Regions from separate parts of the Homo sapiens genome. Here regions 2, 3 and 4 are each linked to region 1. The links are contacts of gene promoters, found by promoter capture Hi-C in blood cells and fetal thymus (Javierre and others, 2016). All regions are on one chromosome and are shown on one strand. The core of a region is centred on a gene start or on the middle of the fragment in contact, and the rest is flanking DNA. Distances in the headings are between cores, read along the strand shown.

Region 1 (8,000 bases), core at 1,676-4,175:
CGAGACCATCCTGGCTAACACTATGAAACACCATCTCTACTAAAAATACAAAAAATTAGCCATGTGTGGTAGCACATGCCTGTAGTCTCAGCTACTTGGGACACTGAGGCAGGAGAATCACTTGAACCCGGGAGGCAGAGGTTGCAGCGAGCAGAGATCATGCCACTGAATTCCAGCCTGGGCGACAGAGATAGATTCCGTCTCAAAAACAAACAAAACAAAACAAAACAAAAAAAGCAAAAAAGCCCCACCACATTTGTTAATATCACCACTGATCCTGTCAGTAGTCTTCAAATATTGGGAAGCTGTCAAACTCATGGTGGCAGACACAAATTTTCCAAAATTCAAATTTTTGACTGAAAGCTCCAATTTTATTATGCTAACAAATTGTAGTTGTTTTCCCGGAAGTGAAAGGCTCACTTTGTTAATTTTCAAGAAAATGTATGCCGCATACCCAAATATGAGTATCCATAGTTTGGCTATCATTTGTTCTATGTTATTTGTTCACGGCGTCCATGAAAAGTGGCTGGTTCAGCTCACAACTGTAGCACACAAATGCTTTTCCTTGAGAGAATCAGGGTTGAGATTTAATAAAATGAGTAATTTTCACTGCTTCATCAAAAACATTCCTAAGTGAGCCTCCTTTTCTTGAAAGAATACATTGTGAAGAATACAATGACTGCTAGTGCAGTCTGACGCCACACATAGGTTCATGTCTCTAACGGTTTTTTCTACCATTGTTTTTGTGTCATCAGTGCAAATATCAGCACAGTGAGGAAAGTGAGGAGCCGGGAGTCTTGGTTTGTGGGCAGTTTCCTGTGGTGGGAAGTTCAGAGAATATTGTTCTGGAATTAGTTTTGATCTCATGGACCCCCCCAAGGGGTCTTGGGGTCCCCCAGTTTCCCCTGGGCCACTTTTTGAGAACCACTGCCTTAGGTACTTGAAGGTATGCATTATTTGAGGCAGGTCGGTGTGCTGGCTTGCTTTTCCTTTCCATTTCTTCTTTTGACACCTTTTAAAAGAGTGTCCTGTTTAAGTCTTTCTTTCTTTCTCTCTTTCTTTCTTTCTTTTTTCTTTCTTTCTTTCTTTCTTTCTTTCTCTCTTTCTTTCTTTCTTTTTTCTTTCTTTCTTTCCTTTCTTTCTTTCTTTCTCTCTCTCTCCCTCTCTCTCTCTCCCTCCCTCCCTCCCTCCCTTCCTTCCTTCTTTATCTGACAAATGCTTATTGAGTTTCTAACATGTGTCAGCATTATGCCAGACACTAAGCTAAACCCTGAGACTACAGAATAAAGTAAATTCCCACTTCTGTGAAATTCACAGCTGGAGGGAGGCTTAAGACAGAGGACAAAAAAATGTAAATATAAATAATGATAGTATTAAAGGCAGGTAAAGAGATAGACTTGGGAACTGCTCTTGAGGAGATTATAATTACAATTCATTCAGGTGCTAGAATGGAGAAGAGAGACTCTGAGCCTCTACCAGTCCCAACTAGTCACGGAGCCCTTTCCAAAGATGCCAGGCTGAAGTGGAGCCTCTGGGCGCAGGTGGGGAGCGAGGCTGGGCACTTGGGAAGGGTCTTGAGATGGTGGGAGGTGGGGCAGAGAGCACTGGGAGCCTGCTCTGGCAGCGTGGAGTGAGATGGGGCTGGGGGCCAGATAATTTAGGACTTAGGAGGTCCTCTCGGGATTCTGAGTTCACAGAATCAGAGAGGGACAACCCACACTGCTCTCTTCCTCCCTCCCGATGCCCTCGTCCCGGACAGCCCTCAGTCTGTTAGTCCTCAAGAATCTGTTGGTCTCTGGATGGGGCAGAGAATCTGTTGGTCCCCTTTGGCAGCCACCACCCAATCTCTTCTTGGGCTTCCCCTCCCCAAGCCGCTCCAAAAAGGGGAACCGAGTCTCCTCAAGTCCTTGGTGCCCCGGATGCAAGCCCAGAAACCTTCTCATTTTGAGAACTGTTCTACTTATTTAGGATGGGCGGCCAGCAAAAGGCATGGAGAAACAGCATGTTGCCAGGCTGGGGAAACTACCAGGGTCCCTACAGTGCTGGTCCCAGGCTGCAGTTCTTGGTCTCCTTCATCTCTGTCTCTGGCTCTGCCCCACATTCACCCTCACCCCAGGACAGAGCTCAGCAGCCCCTGCTCATCACACAGCTCCAGCCTGGGTCTGGGTGCATGACTGGGATGAATGCCAGGTAGACCTGGCGCATGCTCAATGGGCCCCATCCAGAGAGCGCTCCTGGGGAGCCCAGTCTGAGAGTGGGACTGCAGCTCACTGAGAGCAACTGTTCTGGATTCAGGGCACTTCCTAAGTGTCTAGGGAGGCTGCCCCACCCTCCGGGACATGAGAGGCTCTGCAGGTCCCCGTGGAGACTGCATCCTACTGCGTTCTTGGAAAGTGTCATGCAGAGTTTCCTCTGTGAAGACTCAAGGGCTGTAAGTCCAGGTTGCAGAATGTGGAATGAGATTAGGTGACAACTGGAACATGGCGAGGAGCTGGAGATTCTTGGTTTGTGGGAGGCTTTCTGTGGTAGGTGGCAGCTTGATGCCGACGGTGGGGAGTGGCAGGCGGGAGGATGATGGGCAGACATGTAAGCTATTGGGGCAGAATTAGGCATCGTGAGCTGTTTCCTGAGATTGTACCTCCCAGTTTCTCTCTGTCCATCCTGACCCTGCTCATGACCCTGGTAAAAGGTGGTGTTGGTGAGTGACTTCAATCCACAGTCTTCAGGCTCCTGGAGCAGAACTTCACAGGCAGGAAGTTTCTAGATGTTGCAGACACAACCCTCAGGCCCTGCAGGCTTTCCCAGGTTGGGGCTGAGGACGAGCTCTCGGGAGTGTTGGGCAATCTTGCCCTTTCCCAGGGAGGAGCTACCTGGGCTTATTCACAGGGCGGGTCCCCAGGTGCTCTCAGCCTGAGTCTGGTCCCACTTGCATTTCTCCAGGTGCTGTGAAAGGAGCTGGCTCAGAGCCTTGCCCTCTGTCTTCCCTTCTCCCCATCTTTTGTTAGGGATCCTGGGCTCTCTTCTCTCTGGGAAGCTAGAGCCCGAGTGCTCCATTCCCAGGGAGGGAGTGCCCTCTAGGGCTAGGGAGAGTGAAGGCTGGAGGAGAAGGCGCCAGTTGGTGAAGAAGGGCAGGGCCTGGAGGCCAAGTCTGGAAGGGAAGGAGCTGCTGGCCAATCAGGGGCAAGCTGACTGCACCCTGACCTGCTGGGCTGGGACAGCACAGGACCCACAGATATCTGTGAGTTGAGTATGTGTTTCTTCTTCAGAAGCCCTCTTCCAGCAAAGGGACTGGAATCCACCAGAAAGAGTGTTAAGGATTGGATTTCCTCTGCCCTAGAACTAGGAACCCCTCCTACTCCTATATCTCCCTCATCTGGCATATTCCCAGCTGGGAAGGGATTCTCTGCATAAGACCCATCCATATGAGTCTGGATTTCTCGGTTGTACCATTCTTGGATCTTACTTCCTTTGTCTGTAAAAATGGGGGTTAACAGTCTTACATGACAGGATTAGTGTGAGGACTAATTAAATAAGACTGCATGTGCAAGTGTGTACACAGCCTTGCACGCCGTGGGCACGTGATGAAATTGAGTTCCTCGGGTAATAATAGGACAGGGATGCTGAGCACCTGCTGTATGCTGGGGGCCCTGAGAAGACTGAAGCAGGTGCTGGCCCTCAGGAGGCCACAGGATGGTAGAGGAGGCAGATGGCACCCACTGCAGTCAGGGTTTGGGATGCTCTGCAGATTGAGAATGGTCATGTTAACAACTGTCAGCGTCTCTCTCAGGCTGCCATCCACACTCTCCAGATTGGTGTCCTGGGACCACGTGGGGATGCTGCCGTGGCTTCTTGTCTTCTCTGCTCTGGGTATCCAGGCCTGGGGTAAGTTTTCTTTCCCTGGGCCAAAAAGCAACCGAGAAGGGTGATCCTAAAGTCTCATAATAGGAATTAAAAAATACCTACTGTCCATCTGAGCCTGAGGAGTTCAAGGCTGCAGTGAGCCGAGATCCCACCACTGCACTCCAGCCTGAGTGACAGAGGAAGAACTTGTCTCAAAAACAAACAAACAACAACAAAAAAAACTACTCTCTCTTGGCCAGGGGTGGTGGCTTATGCTTGTAATCCCAGCACTTTGGGAGGCCTAGGTGGGCAGATCACGAGGTTAAGAGATCGAGACCATCCTGGCCAACATGGTGAAACCACGTCTCTACTAAAAATACAAAAATTAGCTGGGTGTGGTGGCACATGCCTCTAGTTCCAGCTACTCAGGAGGGAGGCTGAGGTAGGAGAATTGCTTGAAGCCAGGAGATGGAGGTTGTAGTGAGATGAGATCGTGCCACTGCACTCCAACCTGGGTGACAGAGCGAGAACTTGTCTCAAAAAACAAACAAACCAACAAACAAACAAAAACAAACCCATTCTCTCTTGGCCGGGCGCAGTTGCTCACGCCTCTAATCCCAGCACTTTGGGAAGCCGAGGCATGCAGATAAGGAGGTCAAGAGATCGAGACCATCCTGGCCAACATGGTGAAACTCCATCTGGCGCGCTCCTGTAGTCCCAACTACTCGGGAGGGAGGCATGAGAGAACTGCTTGAACCCGGGAGGCAGAGGTTGTAGTGAGCCGAGATTGAGCCACTGCACTCCAGCCTGGTGACAGAGTGAGAGTCCGTCTCAAACAAACAAACAAACAAAAAACAAAACAAAACGAAAAAATCCCCCAAAACCTACTCTCTCTTAAGGAGAAAGAATAGATTGTACATAGAGCACAGAACTTGGAGCCTATAGACCTGGATTCAAGTCCTCGCTCTGCCTCTAGGAATGATTTTAAACAAGCAATTAAGCTCTATAAACCCTTATTTTCCCATCTGAAAATTGAGATAGTTATGACTTCCTAAACTCACTGTGAGGATTAAATGAGATAATGCACCTGAAGATATAGCAATACGTGGGCAGTAAAAGCAAATAAACAGGAGCAAGGATTACATTTGTGTTATTATGATGTCAATCAGAGTCCAGCCTATGGCTTGGGTTTGTGCTTGTCAATAAGAGAAAGCTCCTTGTGGGTAAGGGTCTCAATCAACACCCTGCCCATCCCCCATGGGCCTTCAGACAGGAGAATGGGCATAGCACACGTCCCTAAAATCAATCCCGGGGGAACTGGTCTGAGCCGTGCAGGTAATTCTAACCCCTTCTTCACACACGCTTCCCCATTGCTTCGGTAAAATGCACACAAGAGAGGACTTTGTGGTTTTGAAGTGTCTGAATACATTTCTAGTTTTTTTTTTTTCCCCGCCAATTGTGTGTGTAGATACAGCTCATGAGAAAAGGATAACATTTCCAACTCCTTGCCTATCCCAGGGGATTTCCCAGAGTTGGCATGGAAGGAAGTTATGCCACCTGCTGCTATTAGAGGTGGCCCTCTGGTCAGCCCAGAGAGATTTCTTAGAGGAGGCTCTGGGATTTGAGGAGGCAGAGGGGCAGTGGAGAGGGGATGGCTGTTTCTGTTCAGAGCTGGTGCCACCATGATGGCTGGTATTGGTGCTCTCTGATGCAAAATGGGATATTCCTTTGCAGGTGATTCCTCCTGGAACAAAACACAAGCTAAACAGGTATCAGAGGGGCTCCAGTACCTATTTGAGAACATCTCCCAGCTCACTGAAAAAGGTAAACTGGATCTGGATAGTAAGGGGGTTTTGGGACGAGCTGGGGTTTTTCATGTGATCGGAAATGTTTCTGAGGTCTGCAAAGCCACATGTGACTGGGAGGGGGAAAATGGGGTTGAAGTGCAGAGAGCAGTACCAGTAAACCACCTGCATTAATTACCCAGGTCCTTGGGATGGAAGGCTGGTGCTGGAGGGCTAGAAACCCAGGAAGAGGGGAAACAGCCTCTGCAGACAGGGACTCCCTGTGGAGGGAGACCCAAACCTTGCCCTCAGGAAGTCCTCAGACTGAGGGGGAGACATAGCCCCTGCTGGGGGGAGAAGATGCAGTCCCCTCAGGGAACACTCAGAACCGCAGAGGAAATGATCAGAGAGCACACATTGAATGCTGAGGTGACACCAAGCCAGGCTGCTCAGGGCTTTCCCCAGGGATAAGCAGGTGATGCTTCCTGAAGTGCAGAGCCTGGACCACAGCAGGGGAGGAGATGAGTAGGGGACATTATGGGATGGGGGAGCAAAGCATTAGGCTCCCTGGCCAGGTGCAGAGTCTGTGTTCGGGGTGAGTGTTGGAGAGATGGGTATGTAGAGGTGGGCAGGGCAGGTGCACCTGCCTGCTGAAGGCTCTTCCACTACCAAGGGGCCGACACAGCCCATGCCTGCATGTTCAGCTTGGCGGGCTAATGCGGTAGTGATGGGGCAGGTGCGCTGAGTGACGTCCCCAAGGCCTTCCCACAGATGTCTCCACCACGGTCTCTCGCAAGGCATGGGGGGCAGAAGCTGTTGGCTGCAGTATTCAGCTGACCACGCCAGTGAATGTCCTTGTTATACACCATGTCCCTGGACTGGAGTGTCACGACCAGACAGTCTGCAGCCAGAGACTGCGGGAACTGCAGGCCCATCATGTCCACAACAACAGTGGGTGTGATGTGGCCTACAAGTAAGAGCTGGGTCTGGGTCCCACGGCACATGGTCAGTGTTGCTTCCCTGGGATGCTTCTCCTGTCCCTTCTCATCCCTTTTCCTCATTTTCTGGGTTGTGGTCCTATATGTTTTATAATGAATAAAATATTTAAAACCCCCATGAAACTCCCAATCCTTTGGATTTTTCTGTGAGGTGCCTGTCTCTGAGAGCTCCCAGGAGGAAGCAAGGAAGGTTAAGTAATAACTGTATTCTCTACCCTCCCCCAACCCTGGCTTGCACAGCACACTACAGATTGCAAACGACTTCCTCATACATGAGGGCTTTAGCTCTCCCGACTGGTAGGCAGGTGTCACCATCTCTTTGCCCTGGGAAGAGGGGCCCAAGGGAGGGAGGCTGATTAATTTGAGGTCACATATCTATGGACCCATGGAGCCTAAACTGGCTCTCTTCATCCCTGGCGTGCTCCTCCACACCACACACATGGGCTCCAGCCTCAGTGAGGCAAATGTCCATCTGTTCCTGTAATGATCGCTCTAGTAGGTCGTACTGGTGCCCATACCACATGCCCTTGGCTCACCTCTGACTTTGGCTAGCTGTGGACAGTTCCTGAGTGCAGTGATGGCTTCCTGCCTCAAGTGCCCAACACATCTCTCTGCTTTCCTGCTTCAGACCTTCCCCCAGCCCCTGACGACAAAAGGGAGTGAATGCCTTCCTGGGGGACAGGGCTTGGTGTGTAGCCTCCTCAACCCCAGCCCTTATGAGAGGCAGTTCTAAAGCGCATGTACACAGCTCCTGGGAAGGCCACAGGGTGGGGTGGAGTCACAGGTAGCCACTGTGAGCCAGCCCAATTTCACATACTTTGCTGGCTTTCTTCCTTCTGTCTCACTCTCCTCACCCTGGCTTCTGGGATCCTGTAAGAATTAAAGAGGAAAGAACCATGAAAGGTGGCTCGACAGTCGAGGACTGGTTTATTTTAGAAAAAACAAAACTGAGAGAGGCTTTTGGCCAAGTTAGGTCAGAGCCTACTCTCTTACAGACTAAGAGTTTTTAAGGTTTCAGGGTGGGAGAGTTTATCAGAGGCTTGGACTGCTTCTGTGTCTTTGTCGTGCTTATCTGGGAGGGACAGTTGTGTGTCTGTTCCCATACATCTTTCTGCAGCTGCAGGCATATCCCCACCGCCCCCCAGTCTGCTTTTAGCTTCCTTATCTTAGTGCACCTGAAGGGAAAGGAATGTGCTTATTAAGGCCCACTGTTTTACTGGGGCCAATTGTATGAGGGTGAAGTTTGGCAGTTACTCAAGGGACTTTCCTCCCACCCCTCTCTGCGCCTGAGCTGTCTTATCTGTGTTTTACTGTCTGCTCTTTCTGGCTGCTTGTTTTTTAGAAGAGAAGTGATTTCCTTGAAATACATGAGGCTAGA
Region 2 (8,000 bases), core at 2,722-5,221, 240 kb before region 1:
TTAATGTGATTTATTATTTGGTTGGTTGAATTTCAAAGGGCCCTTGTTTTATGTATTCCCTGAGTTGTTTCTTTCAACTCGAGTCTGTTGCAGCTTGGCAGGGAATACAATTCTTGGGTCACCCTTTCTCTCTGAGCCCTGTAACCTTCTCTCTACTGTTTGCTGACATTGTGTGTTTCATGGGAAAATCTCAGGGGAACTGGACTCTCCTCCCTGATACACAGCTTGCTTTCTGTTCATGGATGCTCTTCCTTTTTAAAGATTCTTTTTCTTTTCCTATTGTTCTAATGATGAAGTATTTCAAAGGTACAGAAAAGTACAGAAAATAACACAATATCTAATCATAAGCTTTGTTGAAGTTGGACATTTTTCTATATTTGAGTTAGATTGCTTTAAATAAATAACTAAAACTTACAGATCCAGTTAAAGGCCTCTGTGTACACTTCCGTATTGTACTTGCACTTTCCACAGCTGTAGTCACTATCCTGAACTGTGTATTTATGATCCCCTTGATTGAAAAATTTTTTGATCACATGTGTACAAATTTCTAAACAATATATTATTATTATTATTATTATTGAGATGGAGTCTTGTTGTGTTGCCCAGGCTGGAGTGCAGTGGCACAATCTCGGCTCACTGCAACCTCTGCCTCCCAGGTTGAAGTGATTCTCCTGCCTTAGCCTCCCAAGTAGCTGGGATTACAGGCGCCCGCCACCACGCCCAGCTAATTTTTAAACAATATTTTATTTAGTATTGCATGTTTTTGCACTTTACATAAATGGTATCATAGCATATAAATTCTTCTGCAACTTCCTCTCTTGTTTAAAATAAGATTTTACTTATTTATTTATTTATTTGAGATGGAGTTTCACTCTCGTTGCCTAGGCTGGAGCGCAATGGCTCAATCTGGGCTCACTGCAACCTCTGCCTCCTAGGTTCAAGCGATTCTCCTGCCTAAGCCTCCTGAGTAGCTGGGATTACAGGCCTGCACCACCACGCCCAGCTAATTTTGTATTTTTAGTAGAGACGGGGTTTCTCCATGTTGGTTAGGCTGGTCTTGAACTCCTGACCTCAGGTGATCCACCCACCTTGGCCTCCCAAAGTGCTGGGATTACAGGTGTCAGCCACCGTGCCCAGATAAAATAAGAGATTTATTTTAAGATTTATATTGATGGAGTTCATTCATTTTTACTACTCTATCATATTTCATTGTATGAAAATACCCTATTTATCTATAGTCCTATTGATGGACATTGGGCTGTTTTCAGTTTTTTGGGTGATTTATTTTAAAACTATTTTATTATCTATTTTTGTTTGTTTGAGACGGACTCTTGCCCTGTTGCCCAGGCTGGAGTGCAATGGCTCGATCTTGGCTCACTGCTACCTCTGCCTCCCAGGTTCAAGCGATTCTCTTGCCTCAGCCTCCTGAGTAGCTGGGATTACTGGCGCTCACCACCATGCCCAGCTAATTTTTTGTATATTTAGTAGAGACAGGGTTTCACCATGTTGGCCAGGCTGGTCTTGAACTTCTGACCTCAGGTGATCTGCCAGCCTCGGCCTATCAAAGTGCTGAGATTACAGGCGTGAGCCACCGCACTTGGCCGTTATTATCTATTAATTTAAAAATTTTGTTGCATTGCAGTCAGAAAAACATAATCTGTATAATATTGCAAACTTTTTTTTTTTTTTTTGAGATGGAGTCTCGCTCTGTCGCCTAGGCTGGAATGCAGTGGCGTGATGGCAGCTCACTGCAAGCTCCACCTCCCAGGTTTATGCCATTCTCCTGCCTCAGCCTCCTGAGTAGGTGGGACTACAGGCGCCTGCCACCACACCCGGCTAATTTTAGTAGAGACAGGGTTTCACCGTGTTAGCCAGGATGGTCTTGATCTCCTGACCTTGTGATTTGCCCTCCTTGGGCTCCCAAAGTGGTGGGATTACAGGTGGCCCTTTTTTTTTTTTTTTTTTTTTTTTTTGAGACAGCGTTTTGCTCTGTTGCCCAGGCTGGAGTGCAATGGCACAATCATAACTCACTGCAGCCTCGAATTCCTGGGCTCAAGCGATCCTCCTGCTTCAGCTTCCCAAAGTGCTGGGATTATAGGTGTGAGCCAACACATCTGGCCTTAATCTGATAATAGTGAGTCTCTGAAATTTTTCAAGGCTTTCTTTATAGCATCCAACATATTCAATATTACGTGATACATACATGCTAGAAAAGATTATGTATTTTCTCTTTGTTGGGTGTGAAATTCTATATACACCAATAGCTTAAATTTTTTGTTGTTGTTGTTGAGGTGGAGTCTCGCTCTGTTGCCCAGGCTGGAGTGTGGTGGTGTGATCTCGGCTCACTGCAACCTCTGCCTCCTGGGTTCAAGTGATCCTCCTGCCTCAGCCTCCCTAGTAGCTGGGACTACAGGTGCCCACCACCATGCCCAACTAATTTTTGTATTTTTAGTTGAGATGGGGTTTTGCCATGTTGGCCAGGCTGGTCTGGAACTCCTGACCTCAGGTGATCCACCCATCTTGGCCCTCCAAAGTTCTGGGATTACAGGAATGAGCCACCATGGCCAGCCCAATAGCTTGAATTTACCAATGATATTATACAGCTATTTTATACCTCTGCTTATTTTTGTCTCCTTGATCAACCAGTTTCAGAGAAAGGTGTGTAAAAAATCTCTAACCATAATTAATCTATTTCTTCCAAAAAACATTTTTTCTTTTTAATTTTTAATTAATTATTATTATTTTTTAATAGCGATGAGGTCCCACTATTCTGCCCAGGCTGGTCTTGGAACTCCTGGGCTCAAGCAGTCCTCCCACCCTGGCCTCTCTAAATGCTGGGATTATAGGCATGAGCCACCACACCCAGCCTCAGAAATTTTATCAGTTGTTGTTTTATATATTTTGAGGCTATATGAGTAGGTGCTTTTATGTTCCTGGTGTTTGTATTTTCTTGTATTACCTCATTCTTTGTCTTTTATATTTTTCCTCTTGTATCCTCTTTTGTCAAATATTAAAATTACTTCCCTGATTTTTTTTTGGTTTATATTTGCTTCATGTATTTTCTTCCTTTTGTTTATTCCTTCTATTTTCTTGTTTAAATATTTGAAATGGTTTTTTATTTTTTTTCAGATGGAGTTTCACTCTTGTTGCCCAGGCTGGAGTGCAATGGTGTGATCTTGGCTCACTGCAACCTCCACCTCCTAGATTCAAGCGATTCTCCTGCCTCAGCCTCCCGAGCGGCTGGGATTATAGGCATGTGCTACCACGCCTGGCTAATTTTTTTGTATTTTTAGTAGAGATGAGGTTTCTCCATGTTGGTCAGGCTGGTCTCGAACTCCTGACCTCAGGTGAACCGCCTGCCTTGGCTTCCCAAAGTGGTGGGATTATAGGCATAAGCCACTGCGCCCAGCCCGTGATAAAGTTTTTTTATTTTCAGTGTTTCTCTTGTATGCAACATATTGCTGAACCTTAAGGAAGAAACTCAACCCAGGAACGTTTGTCTTTTAAGAAGTGTGTTTACTTTACCCATCTTTATTACAATTACTATAATATTAGGACTTATTCTGCCATTTAATTTTATATTTTTCATGTACTGTGCCTTCTTTGTTGTTTCTTTCCCCACCTTTGTTACTTTCCATTACATAGAGCCAACATTCTTCTCATGTTTTGAAAACTATACATTCTATTTTCTTGTTAATGTAGTTGCTTTAATTTGACTTTATGCTACTTCATTGAATAATTTTTAATTATTTATATTCTTCCTAATAATAAAGTTCCTTTCACACCCTCCTATCCCATCAGTCTTGTCTTTTCCTTCCTCTTTTTTTTTTTTTGAGATGGGGTCTTGCACTGTCTCCCAGGCTGAAGTGCAGTGGTACGATCTTGGCTCATTGCAACCTCTGCCTCCTGGGTTCAAGCAATTCTGCCTCAGCTTCCCGAGTAGCTGGGATTACAGGTGTGCGCCACTGTGCTTGGCTAATTTTTGTATTTTTAGTAGAGACGGGGCTTCACCATGTTGGCCATGGTTGGCCAGGCTGGTCTCGAACTCCTGACCTCGGGTGATCTGTCTGCCTCGGCCTCCCAAAGTGCTGGGATTACAGGTGTGAGCCACTGCACCCGGTCCGTTCTGCTTATTTTCATCATATTCATAGTATCTATAATTCAGGTTTTTTTTCTTTTTTTTTTTTTGGTGTAAGTTCCCAACCAATGGCCTTGTCCTTCGAGTACTTTTCCTCAGGCTGATGATAAAAGTTCTGTGTGAAGGTCCTTTTGCTTCAGCTCATCTATGGGACGGAGTCCAGCTGCAAATATATGACACAGTAACTAGAGACTCTACTCTCCAACCAATCATTCCATTCTGATTATCTCTCACTCTCCTCCACCTCTTCTTTCTCAGACTCTCTCCCCCTTTTAGCTTTTGTTGATATTCAATTTTATTATGTCATTTAATCATGTTTATTTCCTATATTGCAGGCATCATCCTATCCTCTTGAACTTATTTCTCTTCTTATTTGGATACTTTGAGAACTGTAAATGTAGGTCTTTGTGTGACAAACATTCTGAGGCTTTTGTAATGCGATAATTTTTTTTTTGTTTTTGAGACAGAGTCTTGCTCTGTCACCCAGGCTGGAGTGCAGTGGCGCAATCTCAGCTCACTGCAGCCTCTGCCTCCCCGGGTTCAAGCAATTCTCCTGCCTCAGCCTTCTGAGTAGCTAGGACCACAGGCACGCGCCACCATGCCCGACTAATTTTTGTATTTTTAGTAGAGATGGGGTTTCATCATGTTGGCCAGGCTAGTCTGGCTAGTCTGTAACTCCTGACCTCAGGTGATCTGCCCGCCTCGGCTTCTGAAAGTGCTGAGATTACAGGCATGAGCCACCACGCCTGGCCGAGAATATTTTTTACTATATTTTCAAATTTGAATGACTATTTGGCTACACAGAATTTTTTTTTCTTTCTTTCTCTCTCTCTCTCTCTCTCTTTTTTTTTTTGAGATAGAATCTTGCTCTGTCTCCCAGGCTGGAGTGCAATGGCGCAATTTTGGTTCACTGCAACCTTAGGCTCCTAGGCTCAAGAAATTCTTGTGCCTCAGCCTCCTGAGTAGTTAGGGATTACAGGGGCATGTCACCACGTCCGGCTAATTTTTGTATTTTTAGTACAGATGGGGTTTCAATGTGTTGGCTAGGCTGGTCTGGACCTCAGGTGAACCTCCCACCTCAGCCTCCCAAAGTGCTGGGATTAACTGGGTGAGCCACTGCACCTAGCCTAAAATTTCTTTCAGTACTTACAAACCTTGCCACTTTCTTGTATTCAGTGTTTCTATTGAGAAGTCTGATGTCAATTTGATTCGTGTTCCTGCAGGACAGTTCTCCCCATGGCCTTGGCCTTATCCAGTTATCTCCCCTTTATCACTTGGAGCTCTCAGGAATAACTGTAGAATGGGCTGAGATACAACATCCCGAGATAAAGAGGGACTGGTGAACAGCCTGGGCCCCGTTCCAGTAACCCCTAGAAACAGGATGTCCTTCAACTCATTAGCCAAGCATGTCACATTGCCCCAGGGGTGTAAATCCAGGGCAGGCTGCTTTTTTTGTTTTGTTTTTTGAGACAGGGTCTCGCTCTGTGGTCCAGGCTGGAGTGCAGTGGCATAATCACGGCTCATGCAGCCTTGAACTCCTGGGCTCAAGAAATCTGTTCTCCTCAGTCCCCCAAGTAGCTGGGGGTACAGGTGTGTGCCACCATGCCCAGCTGATTTTTTTCTTTTTCCTTTTCTTTTTTTTTTGAGACGGAGTCTCACTCTGTTGCCCAGGCTGGAGTGCAGTGGCCCGATCTCTGCTCACTAAAACCTCTGTCTCCCGTGTTCAAGCGATTCTTGTGCCCCAGCCTCCCAAGTAGCTGGGATCACAGGTGCCCACCACCACATCGAGCTAATTTTTTTGTATTTTTAGTAGAGATGGGAGTATCACCATGTTGGCCAGGCTGGTCTCAAACTCCTGACCTCAGGTGATCCGCCTGCCTTGGCCTCCCAAAGTGTTGGATTACAGGGATTACAGGCATGAGCCACCGCGCCTGGCCTGTTTTTTATTTTCTAGAGATGGAGTCTCATTATATTCCCCAGGCTGGTCTCAAACTGCTGGCCTCAAGCAATCCTCCTGCCTCAGTTTCTTAAAGTGCTGGGATTACAGGCGTGAGCCACCATGCCCAGCCTTAGGATGCTTTTTGGAGTCCCTCAGCTGAGATGCAAGTGGGGCACATGTAACTGAGACTCCATCTGCCCTGGGCAGCTTTTCTTTTTTCTTTTTTTCCTCTTTTTCTAATCCAGTATGACTGGTAGTTCCTGGGCAGCTTTTCTGAGCCTTGGGGTACCAGCCTGCCATGAATCTGAGGCTTCTGTTGTCCCCTGCTTTCAATCTGTAAGTAATAAACCTGCTTCATGTAACTTGAGTGTGTCTGTGTGTGTCTGTTTAACTTGACTCAGACAGGTTGAAACCAGTGCACAACGGACCTACTTCTCAATTCCTTTGTAGGCAATCTATTGCTTTTGGAAATGTTCAGAGTTTTAATTGAATTTGATCTTCTTCCACTTCAATATGAGTCTAAATGTGTTTTTTTCCTCAGTTACCCTATTTAGCATTCTATGAGCCCTTTCTATCTGAGATCTTTTTCTCTAATTCTCAGAAGTGTTTCAATGTTATTACTTCATTATTTCCTCCTCTCTGTTTTTTTTTTTTTTAATTCCCTGTCTGGGGAATCCTGTTATCCTGATATGAGCACTCTACTTCTATTCTCCATAGCACTTAGCTCCTTTAAAAATATTCTCTTTGTTCTCTACTTCTGCCTTCTGGGAGAGTTTCTCAGTCTGATCATTTAGCTCATCCATTTATTCTCCAGTTGTAGCCATCTTTTATTTTTCCCAATGATTATGCTCTTTATTTTATTTTATTATTATTTTATTGACACTCTGTCACCCAGGCTGGAGTGCAGTGGCACGATCTTGGTGCATTGCAACCTCTGCCTCCTGGGTTCAAGCAATTCTCCTGCCTCAGCCTCCTGAGTAGCTGGGATTACAGGCTCACACCACCACACCCGGCTAATTTTTGCATTTTTAGTAGAGACGGGGTTTCACCATGTTGGCTAGAATGGTCTTGATCTCTTGACCTTGTGATCTGCCCGCCTCTGCCTCCCAAAGTGCGGGGATTACAGGCGTGAGCCACTGCGCCTGGACAGTTATTTTTTTATGACTTCTTGTTTTTATTTCTATCACTAATCTCTCCTTTATCTTTTTGAGGATTTTATTACCTTAATTTAACTTTTTGGTCTACCAGTTTCAATAACTATGCTTCAAATGGTTCATGTTGGTCTTTTTGGGGGGTATTTTGTTACAATTTCTGTACATCTCAGGTTCTGGTGATTTTGGCTTGTGAGCCTGTGTTTCCTGGGCTGGAGTGGGGGTTGTTCTCAGCTACTGCATCTGGAGGTATTGGGGGAAATCCTCAGTGTGGACAGCCAAAGGCACTGCAGAACTAGTGTCACCATTTTGTTTGCGGTCATTCCGCTGGGCAACATCCTGGATGGGAATTTGCCTTTAAGCTTTATGTTGTGCACATGTACCCTGGAACTTAAAGTATAATAAAAATCTATCTATATATATACAAAATAAAAAAATAAAATATTCACTCATACATGTGGAAAAAAAATAAAAAAATAAAAAAATAAAAAGCAGCTCTGGGAAAAGGCAGTCTCCCTGGATTTAAACCTCCAGCTCTGTGGATTTGCAGTGGGAGGAAGCTTGTTGCCTCAGATCAGCCCCCGACTTACTTGCATCAGCTTTTTATCCTGATAGGCCTTGTGTTTTGCCCTGCTTGTTTCTTCTCTGGAGGCAATTGTATCATATCCTTGTTTTTTTCCAATCCTTAGACCTTGAAAAAATGTTTTCCTTAGTGTAATGGTCAGAACCTTCAAATTAATGTTGAATAAAGTGATAATAGCAAGAATCCTTT
Region 3 (8,000 bases), core at 2,682-5,181, 210 kb before region 1:
GTGGCTGAGGGCTGTGCTTCAGGCCTGGATTCTGGCTTGGGAAGCTGTCCAGCTGGTGTTTTCAGCCTTGGGTAGGGATGTACCCCTACCCACCCACCCAGCCCTCAAGCTGGAGAAGAGGAGGCCAAAGTTTTCCTGTTCAGCCTTTAACTACTCGGGACTTCCTTATGCTCCCCACAGACTGTGGCCCAGCCCAACTGCGGCTGTGTGTAGAGCAACCCCATTTCTCACTGCTTCCCCATCCTTCCAGACACCTTCCTACACAGAGGGACCTTCCCAGGTATTTCTAAGCACACTTAGTTACCTCATTACCTCATTAAGAGGTATTCTGGTGCTGGCCATTAAAAGTCACTCCACTTCATCCATGCCCTGAAGTCAGTCCTGTCCTTCTCCTCCTGATGTCCCCCAGCTGCCTCCTCTGGCCCCCAGCTTCCTAAGGGTGGCCCCAGGTTGCTTCTCTCTCACACACACGGGCGCATGTATGTACACGAGCACTGGACCATGAAGTCTCAGCGTGTGCTCACAGCCTCTCACACAGGAGTGGGCTGTGACTCACAGGCATGTCATGAGAATGAGGCCTGGCACCAGTCTCCAGGCCCCAGAGCAGGGGTTGCCTCCCCTCACCCCGGTCCAGGATGCCCAGTCCCCACGACACCTCCCACTTCCCACTGTGGCCTGGGTGGGCTCAGGGGCTGCCCTTGACCTGGCCTAGAGCCCTCCCCCAGCTGGTGGTGGAGCTGGCACTCTCTGGGAGGGAGGGGGCTGGGAGGGAATGAGTGGGAATGGCAAGAGGCCAGGGTTTGGTGGGATCAGGTTGAGGCAGGTTTGGTTTCCTTAAAATGCCAAGTTGGGGGCCAGTGGGGCCCACATATAAATCCTCACCCTGGGAGCCTGGCTGCCTTGCTCTCCTTCCTGGGTCTGTCTCTGCCACCTGGTCTGGTGAGTACCTCTGTCCTGCTGAGGGCAGGGTGGGGAGGATCCCCGTGGGTCTCTGTCTTTGTCTCCACAGTTCTCTCATTCCAGCTTCCCTGGTGGGATCAACCTGGGCCTCTCTGGGCCTTCCCCCTTGGAAGAACTCTCTGTGAAGTGCTGAAGTGTTGACTGAAGGGTTTTTTTTTTTTTTTTTTTTTTTTGAGATGGAGTCTCGCTCTGTCGCCCAGGCTGGAGTACAGTGGTGTGATCTCAGCTCACTGCAAACTCCCCCTCCCAGGTTCACGCCATTCTCCTGCCTCAGCCTCCCGAGTAGCTGGGACTGCAGGCGCCCACCACCATGCCCGGCTAATTTTTTTGTATTTTTAGTAGAGATGGGGTTTCACCATGTTAGCCAGGATGGTCTCGATCTCCTGATCTCGTGATCCACCCATCTCGGCCTCCCAAAGTGCTGGGATTACAGGAGTAAGCCACCGCGCCCGGCCGACTGAAGGGTTTTTCTCCAGGTTCCTCTGTGAGGTCTCAGTGCAGGGGTTGCTCTGAGGCCCTCCCCTGGATATCTCAGTCTAGGGGCCCTTCTTTGGGGGTCTAGGCCTAGGAGCAGGAGGTGTGCATGTGGGCGTTGCTGCAAAAAGAATCCTGAGATTTTTTTTTTTTTTTGCAAAGTCCTGGATTCTAGCAGGACTAAGGTGCAAGAGGCAGGGGTCTCAAGACTCTGCCTGGGTCATGGCCCCAAGCAGCAAAGCTCTGCCCCCTGCCTCGGTGAAGGCAGGGCTGGCATGATGGGCCCAGGGCATGCCCTGCCTCTGGCATAGCTCCTCTGGCCTCACCCTGAAACCTGCCTAACCTTTCCAGGCTGGTCTGAGTATTCTCAGAGGCCTTGCCGCTGAGGTCTGTCCCATCCTGATCCCAAGGCAATGAACATTTCATATCTTTAATTCTAATTCCAACAGGATCCTTCCTGGTGGAGAGAATGTTAAGTTGCCCCCACCCTATCCATGCCCCTGTCTGCCTAGAGGCTCAGGGGCCTTCAGGGTGAGGGGAGACACATTCCCCACCCTCTGGGAGCTCCTAGTCTGAGAGAGGAAACACTCCTGCCCAAGGGAGCTTCCAGTTAGATGGCAGAGAGAGATGCCTCTGGCTTCAGGAGTCCCGAGTCTAAGGAGGGAAACGACTCCTTCAGGGAGCTTCCTGCTCCTAGGCTGTAGCCATGGCTCCTGCCAGACTGCACAGGAGCCCCCATCTGCCAGCCGGTGCATGTGGCCCTGCTCCCCAGAGCCTGCGCAGATGCCATCAAAATGGGACTCTGGTCACCCTGTCATTTCCCTTCTGGCAGACACTAAAATGGGGAGCCCTGCCCTCAGGGGGGTGTCCCAAGTGCCATCAGAGGAGGCTTGGTGACTCCCAGACACAAGGGAAGCTTTAGCGTCTGCCCTCAGGGTGAGATGGAGGTATCGCCTCCGGCCTCAGGGAACCACAGTCTGAGGGGGAGATGCAGCCCCTGCCTTCCCATTCAGAGAGGGGTTTTGTGAGGTGGCTTGGGGGCATAGGGCAGAAGTGGATCCTACAGGCTGAGCTAAGGCCCCAAGAGCCTCAGCAGTGTACCCATCACCTGGCACCTCTGCAGCCACAGATCCATGATGTGCAGTTCTCTGGAGCAGGCGCTGGCTGTGCTGGTCACTACCTTCCACAAGTACTCCTGCCAAGAGGGCGACAAGTTCAAGCTGAGTAAGGGGGAAATGAAGGAACTTCTGCACAAGGAGCTGCCCAGCTTTGTGGGGGTGAGTGGCACAGGCCTGTGGGGGAGGTCCTGGTGTGAGTGTGGGGGTGCAGGTTAAATCTCTCCCCCAGTTCCGGGTGCCTGTCGATGCAGGTGCCAGGGTGGGGCCCAGCCCCCTCCCCACTTTAGCTTCATGGCTCCACTGGAGTGGAAATGAGGCCCGAGTGGGAGTGCTTAATTAATGGCTGTTTCCTGCAGCATTCCAGAGAACCATGTGCTGTGAGGGCCTTCCGAGTCCATCTGTTTAATCCTGTCATTGGAGACTTGAGAAACCAGAGCCCAGAAGGGAAAAGTGATTGTCCCAAGATCACACAGCACTGGCACGTTCTCTCTCTCTCTTTTCTTTTCTTTTTTTTTTTTTTGAGATGGAGTTTCCCTCTTGTTGCCCAGGCTGGAGTGCAATGGCACGATCTCGGCTCACTGCAACCTCTGCCTCCAGGGGTCAAGCAATTCTCCTGTCTCAGCCTCCTGAGTAGCTGGGACTACAGGCGCATCCCACTACGCCCAGCTAATTTTTGTATTTTTAGTAGAGACAGGGTTTCACCATATTGGCCAGGCTGGTCTCGAACTCCTGACCTCGTGATCTACCTGCCTCGGCTTCCCAAAGTGATTTTTGTATTTTTAGTAGAGACGGGGTTTCATCATATTGGTCAGGCTGGTCTCGAACTCCTGACCTCAGGTGATCTGCCCTCCTCGGCCTCTGAAAGTGCTGGGCTTACAGGCGTGAGCCACCGTGCCCGGACTCCTTTTTTTTTTTTTTTTTTTGTGGTGGGGGGACAAGATCTCACTCTGTCACCCAGGCTGGATCATAGCTCACTGTAATCTCGAACTCCTGGGCTCAAGCAATCCTCCCAAGTAGTTGGAACTACAGGAGTATTGTCACCATGCCTGGCCAATTTTTATTTTTGTAGAGATGGAGTCTTGCTATGTTGTCCAGGCTGGGCTTGAACTCCTGGGTTCAAGCAATCCTCCCACCTCGGCCTCCCAAAGTATTGGAATTACAGATGTGAGGCACTGTGCTTGACCTCTTTCCATTTTTATATGCCAAACTAAGAAAGTATGTAGGGATAGAAAAGCCCAGCTAAGATATATAGTCTGGGACATTTTGTGGAGAAATGCATCGACCTTCAATTTGTCCCTCACCCTCCCTATACTGACTCATTGGTGATTCCCAAAGTTAGGTGTCAGGCTTTGAACACATGAGGCAGGTCCTTCTTTCCTTTTTTTAATTTTGTTTTTGTGGCTGGTTAAATTTTTCTAATTATTTCGGCTAGTATTAAAAAAGTGTTTTTCAGCTGGGTGCAGTGGCCTATGCCTGTAATCCCCACAGTGTGGGAGGCTAAGGCAGGAGGATCTCTTAAGCCCAGGAGTTCGACCAGCCTGGGCAACATAGCAAGACTCCATCTCTACAAAAATAAAAATAAAAATTGGCCAGGCATGGTGGCATACGCTTGTAGTCCCAGCTACTTGGGTGGATTGCTTGAGCCCAGGAGTTCAAGGTTACAGTGAGCTATAATACAGCCTGGGTGACAAAGTGAGATCACTCTGGTTGCCAAGACCAGCCTAGGCAACATAGCGAGGCCTTGTCTCTACTAAAAATAAACAATTAGCTGGGTGTGGTGGCATGAGCCTGTGGTCCCAGCTACTTGGGAGGCTGAGGTGGGAGGATTGCTGGAGCCCAGGAGGTTGAGGCTGCAGTGAGTTGTGATTGTGCCACTGCACTCCAGCCTGGGCAACAGAGCAAGACCTTGTCTTAAAAAATAAAAAGTGTTCTTTTCTGAATCTACCTGGCTGGTGTTGGGGAGCAGCAACCTTCGGTTTCCTCATCAGCAGAATGGGGTGATGATACCTACCTCGCTGGGCTCCTGTGGGATTCGAGCTGATGCATGCTCAGAGGAGCATCCAGTGTCCTCCCTGTGTCCAGGAGGAGGGCACACTGGAGATGCTCACCAATGAGTATCTGTCTCTCTCCTTACTCACTGGGCCCTCTTGGTAGCTCCCAGGGCCTCCTGCCCACCTTATACCCAGCTGCCCAGTGGGGAGGGAGAGCTGGGAACCAACCTGAATGTGTGAGGGTCTGGGTGTTTGGTGGAGCTGGGGTTGGGGCTGGCTTGGTGATGAGTGTATTTCCTGTCACTTTCAGGAGAAAGTGGATGAGGAGGGGCTGAAGAAGCTGATGGGCAGCCTGGATGAGAACAGTGACCAGCAGGTGGACTTCCAGGAGTATGCTGTTTTCCTGGCACTCATCACTGTCATGTGCAATGACTTCTTCCAGGGCTGCCCAGACCGACCCTGAAGCAGAACTCTTGACTTCCTGCCATGGATCTCTTGGGCCCAGGACTGTTGATGCCTTTGAGTTTTGTATTCAATAAACTTTTTTTGTCTGTTGATAATATTTTAATTGCTCAGTGATGTTCCATAACCCGGCTGGCTCAGCTGGAGTGCTGGGAGATGAGGGCCTCCTGGATCCTGCTCCCTTCTGGGCTCTGACTCTCCTGGAAATCTCTCCAAGGCCAGAGCTATGCTTTAGGTCTCAATTTTGGAATTTCAAACACCAGCAAAAAATTGGAAATCGAGATAGGTTGCTGACTTTTATTTTGTCAAATAAAGATATTAAAAAAGGCAAATACCATCCACCATCACTATCATTTCATAAAAAGATAAAATTTCAATTCCAATAAAGGAGGAAAGGTATAATTTCAGAATAAAGGACAGACCTTAACATTCAATACTGCAAGTAATGAGTTGTACCAGGATCTACTCAAGAGATATGAATTAGTCTAATCGACCCCGCAAAGCTTTATTTAAAAGATTCCTTGTTAGACCGAGCACGGTGGCTCACACCTGTAATTCCAGCACGTTGGGAGGCCAAGGCAGGCAGATCCCTTGAGGCCAGGAGTTCGAGACCAGCCTGGTCAACATGGTGAAACCCCGTCTCTACCAAAAAATACAAAAAATTTAGCTGGGTGTGGTGGTACATGCCTGTATTCCCAGCTACTCGGGAGGCTGACGCTGGAGAATTGCTTGAACCTGGGAGATGGAGGTTATAGTGAGCTGAGATTGGGCCACTGGACTCCAGCCTGGGCAACAGAGCAAGACTGTGTCTCAAAAAAAAAAAAAAAAAAAAAAAAAAAAGAATACAGGCCATAGGCAGTGCTGTGGTTTGAATGTGTTCCCCAAAGTTCATGTGTTGGAAACTTTATCTCCAAAGCAATAGTAATTAACAGGTGATTAGGCCATGAGGGCTCTGCTGTAATGAATGGATTCGTGCTGTTATCACAGGAGCGGGTTCCTTATAGAAGGATGAATTTGTCCCCCCACCTTTTATTTCTCTCCCTCTCTTTGCTCTTCCACCAGGAGATGATGCAGCAAGAAGGCCTTCTCCAGGTGTTACCCCCTCCAGCTTAGACTTCCTGGCCTCCAGAATGGTGAGCCAATAAATATCTGTTTTGTTTTGAATACCAGTCTGTGGTATTCTGTTGTAGCAATACAAAATGGACCAAGACAGGCAGTACACCTGTTTTCAGAAAACAAGTGTATTGTATTCTATACAACACATTCTATATTATATTGTACATTCTTTTTTTTTTGAGACAGGGTCTCGCTCTGTTGCCCAGGCTGGAGTGAAGTGGCATCATAATCTCTGCTCACTGCAACTTCCGCCTCCCGGGTTCAAGTGATTCTCCTATCTCAGCCTCCTGAGTAGCTGGGATTACAGGCATGTGCCACTACGCCCAGCTAATTTTGTATTTTTAGTAGAGACGGGTTTCTCCATGCTGGTCAGGCTGGTCTTGAACTCCTAACCTCAGGTGATCTGCCCGCCTCGGGTTCTAAAGTGCTGGGATTACAGATGTGAGCCATCATGCCCGGCCGAGAGCAAAAATTTATTATCTCTTATGGTTCTGCAGGTAGACTGGGTTTAGTTGATGGTTCTCACGTGGGGTCTTCCATGTAGGTGGAAATCGGAGCTAGAGTAATCTGAATGTTTGAACAAACTCAACTTCTACGGTAGCTTGCTTAACATGCGTGGCAACTGATATCGAATGTGAGCTGGGACCTCAGCTAGAACTGCCAGCCGGAGTGCTTACCATGGCCTCTCGATGTGGCTTGAGCTTCTTAGAGCATGGCAGTAGGGTCCTGAGAGGACAAATCCCAAAGTGAGCATTGCATGAGGCCTACGTGGAAGCTGGTAGGCTTAAGATTTATTAATTTTAATTTTAATTAAATTAATTAATTTATTTTTGAGACAGGGTTTCATTCTGTCACCCAGGCCCGGGTGCAGTGGTGCAATAATGGCTCACTGCAGCCTCCACCTCCCAGGGTCAAGCAATTCTCCTGCCTCAGCCTCCCAAGTGGCTGGGACTACAGGTACACGCCACCATACCTGGTTAATTTTTGCATTTTTTGTAGAGACAGTGTTTCACCATGTTGCCCAGGCTGGTCTCAAATTCCTGGACTCAAGGGTCCCACCTGCCTTGGTCTCCCAAAGTGCTGGGAATACAGATATGAGACACTGTGCCTGGTATTTCTTAAGATTTATTTCAGAAATCCCAGGACATCATTTCTGCTATATTCTAATGATAAAAAAAAATCATTAAGTCTGGCTCAGATTAAGGGGAGGAGGAGAATTAGACATCTCTCTCTTTTTTTTTTTTTGAGATGGAGTCTTGCTCTGTCGCCCAGGCTGGAGTGCAGAGGTGTGATCTTGGCTTACTGCAACCTCCACTTCCTGGGTTCAAGTGATTCTCTTGCCTGAGTAGCTGGGATTACAGGCATGCGCCACCACGCCCGGGTAATTTTTGTATTTTCAATAGAGACAGGGTTTCACCATGTTGGTCAGGCTGGTCTTCAACCCCTGACCTCGTGATCTGCCTGCCTCGGCCTCCCAAAGTGCTGGGATGACAGGCGTGAGCCACCGCGCCTGGCTAGACATCTTTTAATGTAAAGAGCAGCGTGCATAAAATTGACAGTGACCATCTTTGGAGACTAAATACCATAGTCTGTCTTCTAGCAACCGCAATTCACATCCCTCCCATATGCAAAATACATTAATCTCCTTCCCAAGACCCACAAAGTCTCATCTCTTTAAGGCATCAATTTGATGTCTCTGATCTTATTATCTGAGACAGGCCCAGAGATATGAACAAGGCTTCTCATGTGCAGTTCCTCCAGGACGGCTCCTCAAAAGTGGTTCCTCTTGACCTGAAGTCCTGTGAAGAACATAGTCGATGTTCACAGGTGAGATAAAGATACATAACTGCCATCCAGGCTTGTTGGCTCACGCCTGTAA
Region 4 (8,000 bases), core at 2,954-5,453, 190 kb before region 1:
TGATGGAGACTCCTCTGGAGAAGGCCCTGACCACTATGGTGACCACGTTTCACAAATATTCGGGGAGAGAGGGTAGCAAACTGACCCTGAGTAGGAAGGAACTCAAGGAGCTGATCAAGAAAGAGCTGTGTCTTGGGGAGGTAGGTGATTGTTCCCTCATCCTCCACCCCAAAGTCTGAGTACTCCCTCTGGGGGACACATACCTACCCTCAGGATCCTCCAGCCTAAGCCAGGGGCAGGGTGGCCAAGGGCTACAGACAGAGACAAAGGAAGATGGTGGGGATTTCGGGCCAGCAAAACTCTAGCCCTCTGTGAAGGAGAATGGGTCAGGGTCTCACTGAGAAGGAGGAAGGGCTGAGTCTGGAGGGTTTAGAGAAGGAGATTGAGGAGCCTTCGATGGTGGGGCCAGGCTCTCCCAGCAGTGGCAGAACCTGTGCTAGGGGTCATGGGTGGTGAAGGGATGCAGGGTGTCCAGGTCCAGCTGTGTACAACTCAAGTGTAGGGACTCTGCCTGATTCTTCTCTGTGTGCACAGCATGGCCAGGGCTCTCTGATGGTGCTGGCACTCAAACTGAAAGGTTAACTTGTAAACATAGGGTAGTGAGGAGACAGAACTGGTTCTCACCAGATGGAGGTGGTGGGAGGGAGGTGACTGACAGAGGGGAAGGCCCATGAGGTTATTATAATACAATATCCCCGAGGATAAATAAATAAATAAATATATATATATATATATATATATATTTTTTTTTTTTTTTTTTTTTTTTTTTGAGAGAGTCTCGCTCTGTCACCCAGGCTGGAATGCAGTGACATGATCTTGGCTCACTGCAACCTCCGCCTCTCAGGTTCAAGCGATTCTCCTGCCTCAGCCTCTTCAGTAGCTGGGATTACAGGCACGCACCATCACGCCCAGCTAATTTTTGTATTTTTAGTAGAGATGGGGGTTTCACCATGTTGGTCAGGCTGGTCTCGAACACCTGACCTCGTGATCCATCTGCCTCGGACTCCCAAAGTGTTGGGATTACAGGCGTGAGCCACTGCGCCTGGCCAAGGATAAATATTTTTGAGACAGAGTCTCACTCTGTCACCCAGGTTAGAGTGCAGTGGTGCGATCATGGCTCACTGTAGCCTTGAACTTTCAGGCTCAAGTGATCCTCTTACCTCAGCCTCCTGAGAAGCTAGGACTACAAGCAAATACCACCACGCTTAGATAATTTTTAAAATTTTTTGTAGAGATGGGGTCTCACTATTTTACCCAGGCTGTTCTTGAACTCCTGGCCTCAAATGATCCTATCGCCTCAGCCTCCCAAAGTGCTGAAATTACAGGCATGAGCCACTGTGCCTAGTCTTATTATTTTTATAGTTAAAAAAAATCAATGCTCAAATACATCAAATAACTTGCCTAAGGACAATCCGCTAGTGGGAGGCTGAGCTGGAGTTCTGGGCCAGGCCTGTGAATCATCCTCCCTGTTTCCTTTAAAATTTAGCCTGGGTGCCTCTCCATCTATCACACCTTGAGCCCTGGTAGGCCCTCCCAGAAAGAAGGTCCACAGTGTGCCACATGGGCAGGGGACAGAAGCAGGTATGGGCGTCCCCAGGCCTGATCTCTGGCCTTCTGCCAGGCTGCCTGCATCCTGGAGGTTAATGAGGGCAGAGGGAGGGGCCACAGGTCCAGCAGGGATTAATTACAGAAGGAGAGACGCCCAGAGGAGGGCCTGGCAATAACAGGAGCCCAGGCTGGGGACTAGGATCACGTGACAGACAAGCAGTTTCCGCCTTTGTAAGTCCCAATGTCTCCTGTGAAAACCTGTAGCTGACGGCAATGATGAGGAGACATCAGGATCTGCTTGTCTATATTTTCTTCCTGTTCCACCCAAAGGACCCTGACTCCATCGTCCTAATGGAGCCAGGCTGGGACATCAGGGGACTGAACAACAGTGCACAACCAGGCTCCAGGCAGGCCTCTTGCACAGCTCTCCTAGCAGGGGAGGGATGCAGTGGCTTCACAGCCCCAGTGCACTGCTCTCATTGAGAGACATTTTGTCCGGGGTTATTCTCACCTAGTCCTTAGAATGGGGAGAGAGTCACTCAGAGACTTGGATAATGCTCAATGCCACATAATCAGCAAGGTGTTCTTTTTTTTTTTTTGAGAAGGAGTTTCATTCTTGTTGCCCAGGCTGGAGTGCAATGGCATGATCTTACTTACTGCAACCTCCGCTTCTCAAGTTCAAGCGATTCTCCTGCCTCAGCCTTCCAAATAGCTGGGATTACAGGGATGTACCACCATGCCTGGCTAATTTTGTATTTTCAGTAGAGACAGGGTTTCACCATGTTGGTCAGGCTGGTCTCGAACTCCTGATGTCAGGTGATCCACCCGCCTCGGCCTCCCAAAGTGCTAGGATTACAGGTGTGAGCCACCACACCTGACCCAGCAAGCTGTTTTTATCAGGTGTTGGTATAAAACCTAGATGATTGTTTCTTTGGCTGGGGGACAGTATTGCAGGGAAGGCAGGCTAGGCTAGCATTCCTGCTGTCATTTATTTCCATTCAGGAGTCAGGTCCCTGACCCCCTACCTCATGCCAGGCCCTTCCCTAGGTGTGGGCAGTGGGCAGACTCTGGGGGTCGAGATGCTGACAGTGTCATTGACTCAGCTGGGGCTCACCCTGAAGTTTCGGGGTGGGGATGACACCATGCAGTGGTGCGAGGGCAGGGCTGGGAGCGGGGTCTGAGCTGTCTCTCCACCTGGGTCCACAAAAGATGAAGGAGAGCAGCATCGATGACTTGATGAAGAGCCTGGACAAGAACAGCGACCAGGAGATCGACTTCAAGGAGTACTCGGTGTTCCTGACCATGCTGTGCATGGCCTACAACGACTTCTTTCTAGAGGACAACAAGTGACCAGGGCTGCCCTCCACCCTCACCCTCCACCCTTTGCTGCTGACCTCGGCTGCTCCTCTCACAGACCCTCTTTGGCCCCCTGCCCTCCTCTCCCTCCCAGATGGACCCTTCCATGGGAGGAAATAAAGTTTCCATCGCAGGTGCTGGGAGTCTGGTTTTGAAGCTGTCTTGTCTACCTTGGCCTGGGGAGAGGGGAGCACAGGAAGGGTCTCTCCTTGAGTGGGTTGAGACAGCTTCTGCCTCTGGGGGTTAGGGTCCTGGGCTCCCACTGCATTCCTCTCCTTCTTTGGTGTGGACGTCATTGGTTTTGTCATGGCTTAGTTTTGCCTGCCTGGAAAATGGGGAAGTTAGGCCAGGCGGGAACTCTGCAAGGATGCAGAGGAAGTTAAGAGGGAAAGTTGCTTTGAGAGGAGGACACTGGGAGGGGTTGGGAGTGGCTCCTGAGGGCGGTGATAGGCAGGCAGGCCTGACTTGTCCACAGCTCACCGGAGGCCACCTTGGCAGCACCTGTAGGAAGGGCATGTCTGGCCTCCACACCAGCCCCCTCCCTCTTCACCATTTCCCCTTCAATAGCACCACTCTCATCATCTATGGGGGACAGTGCTTTCTTCTCTCCCTGCCTCCTCCATCAAAATCTTTTCTCAGGGGAGGGTCTGAAAAGGCCTTCACTCCCCCGTAAATAACGAATGGTGCTTACAGGGCTGGGCTCCCACGTGCATGCACATTAACACCAAAGGTGCTGTAGTGAATGGAATTTGGGGCACTGAGGGGAAGGAGTGGAGGTGTTGGTAGGAACTTGTTGCTGGTGGGGGATGGGCGCCGTAGATATCCTTTACACCACTGGCTACTCCCCCTATCTCCTCTGGGGTGACCCTGAGTATCCTCTGTGGGACACCGGCATCCTGTGAGGCGCCCTCCTTGCCCACATTGACGCTGCGCTGGCTCGAGGGTCACATTCACGGTCTGGCAGAGGAAGCAGGGGTGACCGCCGCAGTCCTCCTCCTGCTCCCCTTGCCGAGTCACGTGTCACGAAGAGCAAACTGAGCAAACTGAGCTGCGCAGATGAGGGGAGACTCGTCACCAGGCGTGCAGTGGGCACTGCTGGGCTCCCCCATCCCGTCCTAACCCGGAACAGCCCCGGGCAGGAGGCGTGGAAAGTCGAGGGGGTAAACCGCGAATGTGCGTTGTGTAAGCCACGGCGCAGGGTGGGGCGCGGGCGGGACTTGGGCGGGCGGGGTGGGCTTGGCCGAGCTGGCCTCCGGGGCACCGACCGCTATAAGGCCAGTCGGACTGCGACACAGCCCATCCCCTCGACCGCTCGCGTCGCATTTGGCCGCCTCCCTACCGGTGAGTTCTCTCCAGGAGCCCTGGGTACTTTCCAGGGCCAGCTGCCCTCACGCTGGGGGTCCAGCCATCCCCTGCCCAGTTCAGCCGCTGGATCCAGACTGGGGCCATCTGTGGCGCTCCCCCGCTGGAGGGATAGTCAGGAGCAGCAGTGCTGTGCCAGGCAGGCCTTGGGCTAAGGGATCGCAATGGGGTGTGCTCTTTTGGGGTGCGGAAGGGAGTGCCCTGGGTGTGTCATTGCCACCATGTGTGGCCCTGTGAAGCTGTGTTTAAGCTGCCTTTGCAGCCTCCATTCCCCTCCCCTGCCCAGCCATACTCCTCAACTTCTGGATCCCCTGAAGGACAGTTCTCAGCTGTGCCCAAAGCTACTGTTCCTATATGCTTCTTAGAATCCTTAAGCCACCTCTCTTGCCTTGGCCCTAGTGTGCTCTCTCCTTCCCCTTCAAGCCCTGGGCTGTCTCCTGATGCCATTGTGTGTGGCCTGAGACTGGGTGGTTCCAAAGGAGGCGGGGCTAGTGCAGGCAGCATTATTGGGGTGTGTGGGTGAGAAGTCCTTGCTCCCATGGCACTGACTAGGCCCTCTGCTGCCAGCTCCAAGCCCAGCCCTCAGCCATGGCATGCCCCCTGGATCAGGCCATTGGCCTCCTCGTGGCCATCTTCCACAAGTACTCCGGCAGGGAGGGTGACAAGCACACCCTGAGCAAGAAGGAGCTGAAGGAGCTGATCCAGAAGGAGCTCACCATTGGCTCGGTGAGTGGCCTCCTCCCCAGGACCCCTTTTCCCACCCTTGTCCTTTGGAAGCAGGATTAGGGGAGAGAGAGGTGCCAGGTGCATCTGACTCACATTTACCCACATTCTGAGGCCCTGGTCCACATGTAGACCCTGAGCTGTAGACCCACTCTCCCAGCGGGTAGGGGATGCTTCCAGCCGGATATCCATCTCTCCAAATGAGGACCAGTAACTGAGAAGTAGCTGAGGAGAAGCAATGCCAAAGTGACATGGGTCCTTGGTGATGAGGGAGCACAGAGCCACTTGCAGAGAGGATTGCCTGGGAGGGGGAAGGGGAAGAATCCAGGGTTGTCATCACCACTGAGTATGGATTTCACATTCTAACACATTAGAAGCTGCAGGATGCTGAAATTGCAAGGCTGATGGAAGACTTGGACCGGAACAAGGACCAGGAGGTGAACTTCCAGGAGTATGTCACCTTCCTGGGGGCCTTGGCTTTGATCTACAATGAAGCCCTCAAGGGCTGAAAATAAATAGGGAAGATGGAGACACCCTCTGGGGGTCCTCTCTGAGTCAAATCCAGTGGTGGGTAATTGTACAATAAATTTTTTTTGGTCAAATTTACCCTTGCGTCCTGGCTTCCGAATGATTTCTGTTCCTCCTTGGCTTAGTGGGACACCAGCCATTGGAAGATTTGCTCACGGTCAACCTCTGAAAATGACTCATTGACTCGCCAGGCCAGAGGACCCACCCTGACAAGGCTGCCTCTAGCACATAAGGTGCCTTTATGTGAATGAGGAGAGATGCCCCTCTTGGCAACGCCATCCTAAGGAAAGGCTCAAGTGGTTTCCAGTAGAGAGAGTCCTGGGATGAGCTTGGAGATGGAAATGGTCCCTGGGCCGGGATGTGATGGGGTTTGGGGGCCTGGAAGTGAGGCAGAGATAGTCCCAGAGGCTCCCAGATGTGTTTTGCTCTGGGTGTGGCAAGAGGGGCCCTGGGGTGGGGCAAGTCCCCTTTCTCATCACAGCGCAGGGGTTAGATAGGGCACATCTGAGATGCCTGAGGCTTGGCTCAGGGAGTTTCCTACACCAGTGAGGACGCTGTGTGACTGAGTCTACTGCGGCTGCCCAGGTCCCAGGTGGAGTGGGGGAGGCACACTCTTGGAGTGTGTCCCTGCATTCAGGGTGAGGGCTTTTTGTTGGAACGGTGGTCTGAGGAGCTGGCAGCTGCACCAACACGTGAACCACGGGGTGTTCAGTAATGGGGCGGGGTATCCCTGCAGCCTCAGCGTAATGACTCACCCGGCACTTCCACGGGATCCCAGCCTGGATCTCAGCCCCCATCAGAGAAGATGACTAATTGAATCATTGTCCATCATCTGGATTAGTGTTTTCAGGCAGAAGGGAAGAGGATAAGGAGGGTAAACGCTGTTTCCGGGTGATGCCACATCATTCAGCCTCTCTAGGCCTAGTCCGAGCTGGGCAAGTTTACCTCTAGCTTCTGGGGAAGAGATCTTGACTTTAGATGGAGACCACATCCTTCTTTCCCTCTCACCTCCCCACTTCCCTTGGGGGTCCAACTTTGTGGAATTAAGTTGTCTTCTGTCCCCACTGGGTGGGGATTGGTAAACAGCTGGGAGATGCACCTTCTTGGAGGCCCTCCTTCTCTATTGCCTCCCCTGCCCTGCAGGGAGAAGTCGCGCTGTTGGTTGCAAGAGACCGGGGGCCGAATTCCCTCTCTGCACAGCCGTGCCCAAGCCTTGGCTCTATTCAGCTCCCTCTGGAAAAGTACGCGCTCCCTAACCCCTCCCGCGCCCCTCTAGGTTCCCGCCCTACACCCCTTTCCTCCCCCTTTCTTCCAGTCCCTCTCCGCCTGCCTTCCAGTGGCTGACAACTTGGGGTTCGGAGCGAGCGCCCTCCTGTGGACAGAGAGCAGGGCGCTGCGGGGACAGTCGGGTTGGTTTTCTTGAGCCTCTGGCAGGGGCCCGCCGTGGGGCTGTGGCCTGGCAGTCAGGGGAGTCCTTAGGAAGAGGAAGACAGAATAGGGCGCCCCGGGAATGTCAGGGTAGGGGGATCCTTTAGCTCCCGGCAATCAGCCCTAGAATTAAGCAACTCAGCTTCACAATTGACACACCTACAATAAGCAAGTCCATGAGGGAAAGGCGGTCCCTTTGTAAAGACAAATGGAATCGGAACCCTGCGCCTCCCCTCCCCAACCTGCAGGGCTAGAAGACCTTCGTACAAATCAATGCTCCCTGAGGAGAGGGAAGAGGAGTTTCAGTGACAGGAAGCCCGCTGCTGCGGGGAGGGGATGCTCAGGCAAGGCCGTCTGCCGGGCGTTCCTGGGGAGCTCTGGTGGGTGGGCAGGCCACCGGTGCAGGAGAATCAACACAGGTGCACAGTCCATCTGCTCAGTAAACAGGCGTGTCCTTTCGTTTCTGCTTCTCCACAGTGGTGGAGGGGAAAGGGAACATGAATTTCAAGAATAAAACAAAAAACAAAACAAACAGCAAATCTTTAGGGGTATAATTTTTTAGGTTTTTTTTTTTTTTCTCGCAGGATAGGGGAGGGAAGCAGCATTTACAATGGAATATGGTAGGTGCAGCAGTCAAATGGTGGAATTGGGTGTGGAGAGGTGCATAGACTGGACGTTTTATTGCTCCGACCAATTTAAAGTTGGAATTGAATCCTTTCAGCTCACTGTTGAGTATGGTGTGGGCTTACAGGATGGGGAAAAGTTAGGATGTGAGCTGAGGGCTTCATGAGAGGTCACTTTGCTTCTCTGAAGGTTGAGCAGTGGGAGTGGCTCTAGTCTCTCCACTTCCTTCAGTTGAGGTCCTCCCATTACTGACATTAATCCTACAATCTAATCACCCTAACATTGGTGAAGCTGCAACAGCAGCACCACAGACCATCTCTGTAAACTGGGGCAGGCCCCAGTTAGGGGGTTTAGGACTGAGTCACAGGAAGTAGCTCTCTGTTTTTTGCCAAGCAAAAAGGAAATTGTCAAGAATAATGCCACCACCTTTG

The links. The method cuts DNA at HindIII sites, captures the fragments that hold promoters and counts their contacts. A CHiCAGO score of 5 or more calls a contact.
Region 2: a fragment that was not itself captured here is called in contact with the fragment with the promoter of PGLYRP4 in region 1 in 1 of 17 cell types (neutrophils); the score reaches 8.3 in neutrophils.
Region 3: a fragment that was not itself captured here is called in contact with the fragment with the promoter of PGLYRP4 in region 1 in 3 of 17 cell types (neutrophils, monocytes and M1 macrophages); the score reaches 9.0 in neutrophils.
Region 4: the fragment with the promoter of S100A6 here is called in contact with the fragment with the promoter of PGLYRP4 in region 1 in 1 of 17 cell types (neutrophils); the score reaches 5.1 in neutrophils.

What each region holds. Positions count from the first base shown.
Region 1 is chr1:153,343,766-153,351,765 of GRCh38, reverse strand. PGLYRP4 (peptidoglycan recognition protein 4) reads left to right here and starts at 2,925. Exons shown (of 9, transcript NM_020393.4): 1 at 2,925-3,238; 2 at 3,788-3,882; 3 at 5,575-5,664; 4 at 6,384-6,597. The coding sequence starts at 3,834. RefSeq lists enhancers at 6,405-6,624, 7,431-7,510. The HindIII fragment of the contact is 10,086 bases long and covers 1-8,000 here.
Region 2 is chr1:153,585,006-153,593,005 of GRCh38, reverse strand. No RefSeq gene overlaps it. Among named protein-coding and RNA genes, the nearest start is that of S100A2, 23 kb to the right of the region's middle. The HindIII fragment of the contact is 7,242 bases long and covers 351-7,592 here.
Region 3 is chr1:153,558,445-153,566,444 of GRCh38, reverse strand. S100A2 (S100 calcium binding protein A2) reads left to right here and starts at 601. Exons shown (of 3, transcript NM_005978.4): 1 at 601-939; 2 at 2,558-2,711; 3 at 4,854-5,337. The coding sequence starts at 2,568. The coding sequence ends at 5,006. RefSeq lists enhancers at 1-576, 550-609, 729-1,486, 1,487-2,244. The HindIII fragment of the contact is 3,158 bases long and covers 2,353-5,510 here.
Region 4 is chr1:153,532,194-153,540,193 of GRCh38, reverse strand. It overlaps S100A6 (S100 calcium binding protein A6), which reads left to right and starts at 4,203. Exons shown (of 3, transcript NM_014624.4): 1 at 4,203-4,245; 2 at 4,834-4,992; 3 at 5,364-5,595. The coding sequence starts at 4,855. The coding sequence ends at 5,498. S100A5 (S100 calcium binding protein A5) reads left to right here. Exons shown (of 3, transcript NM_001394232.1): 2 at 1-140; 3 at 2,758-3,047. The coding sequence starts at 3. The coding sequence ends at 2,898. It overlaps LOC124904423 (a long non-coding RNA gene), which reads right to left and starts at 6,752. Exons shown (of 2, transcript XR_007066630.1): 1 at 6,273-6,752; 2 at 2,519-5,290. RefSeq lists enhancers at 3,578-4,213, 6,167-6,461 and a cis regulatory region at 7,638-7,965. The HindIII fragment of the contact is 28,060 bases long and covers 1-8,000 here.